2 separate regions of the Homo sapiens genome follow, and region 2 is linked to region 1. The links are contacts of gene promoters, found by promoter capture Hi-C in blood cells and fetal thymus (Javierre and others, 2016). All regions are on one chromosome and are shown on one strand. The core of a region is centred on a gene start or on the middle of the fragment in contact, and the rest is flanking DNA. Distances in the headings are between cores, read along the strand shown.

Region 1 (2,700 bases), core at 197-2,696:
GCGCCCAGCTGAAGCTGGTTGTTAAGAGTAAGTGGCTAGGGCTAACTTGTATGATTTTTATTGCTCTCCTTTTCACTGTGAAGGGCCAGGAAATGTCGATGTTGGAGCTGCAACATTGAACATGGTTCCTGACTTTGTGGAACTCATGGTCTAAGATGTGTTCTAGAGTGAGGTCCAAAAACTCTTGGGAGAATCCCATACTAGGGGCCAAAGTCCTGCTAGGGTGTGTTATGGAATAACAGCAACAAAATAATGTCAACAGCCAATGAGCACAGGATAACTACAACACACCATGATGTCATAACTTGGACAAAGGCTTGTGACCCCCTGACTTTGGCGCAACATGAAATGAGCAGAAAGTAAGGTATATTATGGAATAAGCCCCAAAACTTGAGAGAATCCCATGCTAAGGGCTTAAGCCCTGACCAAGACAAGCCAGACAGGACCATGAATGTGTGGCCATGTTATACTGAGCTCATCAGCACCTGCTGAGCTCCTGTGTCACCTCTAAAGCCATGCGCACAAGTTTTGCATTGAGATAATTGCTCTACTGGTTTCTAGATATAGTTGAATTCTCCACCCCCACTCCCACTGCCCTATGACCTCCAGCAAAACAAAAGCAGGTAGGTAGTAATTGTGTTGTGAGTTAACGATATCTATATCTTTGGATAATAAAATCTATATCATTTCAGTGGTAGCATTGGAATATCAGTTGCCCTTCCCCATGAAGAAAGCACATTGTTATCGTTTAAATCATTATCATAATCAAAAATATCAAAGACCCAGTCATTCATCAGTCTTTCCAGTGAAGTCAACTGCCTTTGTTTTTTGTTTGTTTATTTTTGAGACAGGGTCTCTCTCTCTGTCACCCAGGTTAGAGTGCAGTGGCGCGATCTGGCTCACTGCAACCTCCACCTCCCAGGCTCAAGCGATTCTCCCACCTCTGCCTCCTGAGTAGCTGGGAATACAGGTGCTCACCAACATGCCCGGCTAATTTTTGTGTTTTTAGTACAAACAAGGTTTCGCCTTGTTGGCCAGGCTGGTCTCGAACTCCTGGCCTCAAGCGAGCCCCCTGCCTCAGCCTCCCAAAGTGCTGGGATTACAGGCGTGGGCCACTACGCCCGGCCTGAAACCAATTGCCTTTGAATTCATCCTGGGGAATCTGCTGAAGTGGACAGTTTATGTAAACACAAAAACATCCTAATGAATGGCTGCCTCAGTAGGAGTGGCAGACAAAACACATGGTGCACTTTTCATCAAAAACACACAAGGAAAAAATTTTTCATCATATCTTTTGTAGTTGCTAATAAACTTAATTCACGCACTTGTGTTTTTTTGTGGGTTTTTTTTTTTGTACACTTCTTAGTACCACAAAGAGGAAGTGCTTTTTCTCCTTCCTTTAAGAAAAAGTTCCAGTTCAAACCATCAGCCTCTGTAGGTTGTCTTAATTGCTACTTTGCACTGCACTGGACTATGACTGATTTTTGGCACATGCTATCATACACAAAGTTCCTGAAATAAAATGCTCCAGGATATCCTAGGAACTCTTAGAAGGCTTTAAAAAGGGACTCACACACTGAAAGAATATCTTTGATGAAGACAATTCAGGCAAGCAGAATGATTCTTGCAACAGAATTACATGATTAATTGAGATCTTGAAGTGGGTCCGGTGAATCCTGGCCACCTAACTTATCATGATTTGGGGGAGTTTCACGAGAATCCAGTTTTGATAAAACAATTGTTTTTTTCCTCCCCAAGTGACTATACATTTAAATAGCTAAAACATCTGTTCAGCAACATAGTAAAACATATATACTCGGAACGCTTGAGAGAAGAGCCTGCCAAACAGGGACTTTGCTGAGGGAGAGCACCAAGATAAAGCAACACTGTTTGTTTTGTCTAGTCAGGGGGAAAGCCAAGGCAACCAATATTTTGGTTTTTATAATTTTCATTTGTGAAGAATTATTTGAGAAAGGGTGGCGAGGGGAGATTTCCTGACGGCAGTTTCTTAAGCTGTCCATTAGTAGAAGAGCAAGAAAGCCTTGGATGTCAACGCCTCGCTCTTGAGACCAGCCACCAAACCACGAAAAGTGACTTTCTTCTCGTGTGCTCTCTACGGCCCTTCTGATGGAAGCAGAAACAGGGAGCAGCGTGGAGACTGGAAAGAAGGCCAACAGAGGCACTCGAATTGCCCTGGTCGTGTTTGTCGGTGGCACCCTAGTTCTGGGCACGATCCTCTTTCTAGGTAAGTGGAGTGCAGGAGGCCGGGGGAACTGGGTGTGTGTCGAGAAGTTTCCTTGTGCTTTATTGTAGCAAAACTTGTCATAACACAGGTATAGGGCTGTTTGCCTGCGTTCATAGGTGGTGTATCTTTAGTTTCTATCAAATATGCAAATGATAAAGAAGGCTTTTTTAAGGAGCCTAAATAAATAAATACACCCAAGTACCAAATGTATAGTCCAGAAGGCAAAGTGGGTGTAAGTGGCTTCGAGTGGCTGGCTGATTCTGTTGCATTGGGTGGAAAATTTTTTATGTGGTACATTTAGCAAAATGAGTGTTTGTGAATTCATAGTCACATAGTTTCATTTATATTTTGAGGAAAGACTTTACATTGTGATGAAAACCATGCTGGAGTGTCTTTCCATTTGACTTTTATTAATGTTTGCTTGAACGAATCATGAAATTTAATTCACAAAACAC
Region 2 (2,700 bases), core at 201-2,700, 1.6 Mb after region 1:
ATTTTGCTGAAAATATTATATACTGCTTAAGGAATAAGGAATAACACCTGTGTATATGTTATGGTTATTGTGGGGTTTCTCGTCTTTTTTTAACTCTGTGACAGTGAGCGTTTTTGTATATGGTCAGAAAGTTGACTAAAAGTAAATACCCTTACAGCTTTATTCACGTTGAGGATTTAATTTTATTTTACAAAACACTATTTTGAGTGTTTTTCAAAATTCATGAAAGTGAGAAGAGACCAAAAAGAGTTATGTCAATTTTTATCTTTTATTCTCTTGGAACTTACTTTTTGGTTACAACAAATAACTAGAAGTTTCCTCCTCTATCTTTGCCACTGTGCCTTTTTCCATTAGGACTAATCTGGAACTACATAGATCAAATTTAAACTTGCAGGGAGGGTATACTTAAGCTCATTGCTATAGGTTGTTTCTAGGCCAGGGATTAACAAATTTTTTCTGCTGGATTTGGCCTATTGACCTATTTGCCAACCCCTGCTCTAAGCCACAAAGGAAGAATTCTCATGAAAATTATTACATTGAGACTAAAGTTATGAGTCTGCATAATATATAATCTTTTAAATTATAAGAACTTGCTTCTTTCTAATCAACTCATATTGTGACTTGATTTTTTTAAGTATAGCTTAATTTCTAATAGAAACCAGAAGTAGAAATTTCAGTAGACATAAAAAATGACAGGCCTTCTAAATTCATGTTGTTATAAAACCAGAAGGTTAACATGTATGTTAAATATATACGACTAACACCCTGAATTTGGAAGTTAGTCTAATGTAGCAGAAAAATATGTTCTGTGTTTCTCCATTGTTATTCATAACTCCATAATGGGTAAGAGATAGTTAATTGGAGCATGTTGTTAGCAATGGTCTTCTGGGACAAGGAGCTAAGATAGCCTCTTCCTGTTTTCATGTAATGCTGGACTGTGCCTGGTTAGAGAAGGAAGAATTCTGGGGCATTTGCCACAGTCTACAAGGAGGAAAGTTACAAACGTAACCCTTCAGTTTCCTGCCAAAACTTTTTCTGTCTTCACTAAGAAGTTGGTCAAATGTATCTCTAGGTAGCATTCCTTGAAATAAGAAGAAAGGCAGAGGCTGGGTGCAGTGGCTCACGCCTGTAATCCCAGCACTTTGGGAGGCCAACATGGGCGGATCACCTGAGGTCAGGAGTTCTAGACCAGCCTGGCCAACAAGGTGAAACCCCGTCTCTACTGAAAATACAAACAAAATTACCCGGGCGTGGTGGTGGGCGTTTGTAGTCCCAGTTACTCAGCAGGCTGAGGCAGGAGAATTGCTTGAACCCGGGAGGCGGAGGTTGCAGTGAGCTGAGATCGCGCCACTGCACTCCAGCCTGGGTGACAGAGTGAGACCCTGCCACAAAAAAAAAAAAAAAGGAAGGCTGAGGCTGACCATTCCTACCCTTTAGAAAATATTAAAAATACATTTTATAGCCCAGGTTTCCAGGGACATCATCCGAGATTAGAACTGTCTACTTGGACATGACAGTGCTGTACCTGAATACCTGAAACATGTTAAAATCCTGTATTGGTATCTGGTAGGAACTTGTGCCCTAACTAAGTCTATGTTTTTCAAACTTTCTTGACCATGTCTCACAGTAGGAAATACATTTTTCGTTGTCAGCCAGTACACAGGCACATATATATACGGTAACATTCCATCTGGATGCACCAGCACAGCCATGCTCCTTAAAATACTGAAAAACCCTCATATCATGTGGTAAATAGCCACTTCCCTTTCCTCACCAACTAGTTAGTCCTCCTGCCTGATCCCTTTCAGAAACCTCCAGAACTAAAGCCAGCTTTGAGTTAAGATTGTTAAATATTTTGAATATCATCACTGTTGAAGACAAACATATATATTTGTATATATAAATATGTGTTTCATAATTTACCCTTAGTATGTATGATAGAGTCTCCTGTTTTCTATTCGATTTCACTTTTTAAAAATATTTTTTAGAACTCAGTTAATTTAAGGAGTCCCTACCACGGTTTGAAAAAATGCCACCCTAGTAATATTCTGTAAACATGGCCTGACAACATGAGGGTATTAAGGTATAAAATCCCTGGCTGCACAGGACTGGTAGACAAGGTGGAAGAGGACCTTATCAAGAAAGGAGGGGTGGGGGTACTGGAAAACATTGCCTCCTCTCCAAAATACACATAGATGCATCTAATTCATAGGGTTGGTATAGGAATATTAAAAAAAAAATAGTGAAATGACATAAAATTTGTATAGATCCTTTGAAAGCTATAAAATACTATATAAATAAAAGGTATTATTAAATAAAAGTAATAAAATGAGGGGTGGCTATTGCTATAAGGGAGAAGGGAACATTGGTTGACTACTGATCTATTAAGTTGTAATAAGAAAGTTTATTGAGATGTAGTTGGGAACTCTGTAATATGTTTCTGTCTTAAATATTTGATTAAATGACAGTCTTTTAGACTACTCCATTTTGAAAAGGTTCAAATATAAAATTGTTCTTAATGTGCATTTTTATTATTAAAGGTATTTGTAAAAATTGTCATTTGAAAGTTTAGGTATATGCTTATTTGGAGAATACTGAATATTTTTTTTTTTTTACCTTTCAGCACATTTGTGTGTCCAACTGAAATTATCGCTTTTGGCGACAGACTTGAAGAATTCAGATCTATAAATACTGAAGTGG

The links. The method cuts DNA at HindIII sites, captures the fragments that hold promoters and counts their contacts. A CHiCAGO score of 5 or more calls a contact.
Region 2: a fragment that was not itself captured here is called in contact with the fragment with the promoter of PHEX in region 1 in 1 of 17 cell types (neutrophils); the score reaches 6.3 in neutrophils.

What each region holds. Positions count from the first base shown.
Region 1 is chrX:22,030,879-22,033,578 of GRCh38, forward strand. It overlaps PHEX (phosphate regulating endopeptidase X-linked), which reads left to right and starts at 1,447. Exons shown (of 22, transcript NM_000444.6): 1 at 1,447-2,245. The coding sequence starts at 2,128. The HindIII fragment of the contact is 6,886 bases long and covers 1-2,700 here.
Region 2 is chrX:23,672,367-23,675,066 of GRCh38, forward strand. It overlaps PRDX4 (peroxiredoxin 4), which reads left to right. Exons shown (of 7, transcript NM_006406.2): 3 at 2,624-2,700. Among named protein-coding and RNA genes, the nearest start is that of PRDX4, 6.2 kb to the left of the region's middle. The HindIII fragment of the contact is 4,829 bases long and covers 1-2,700 here.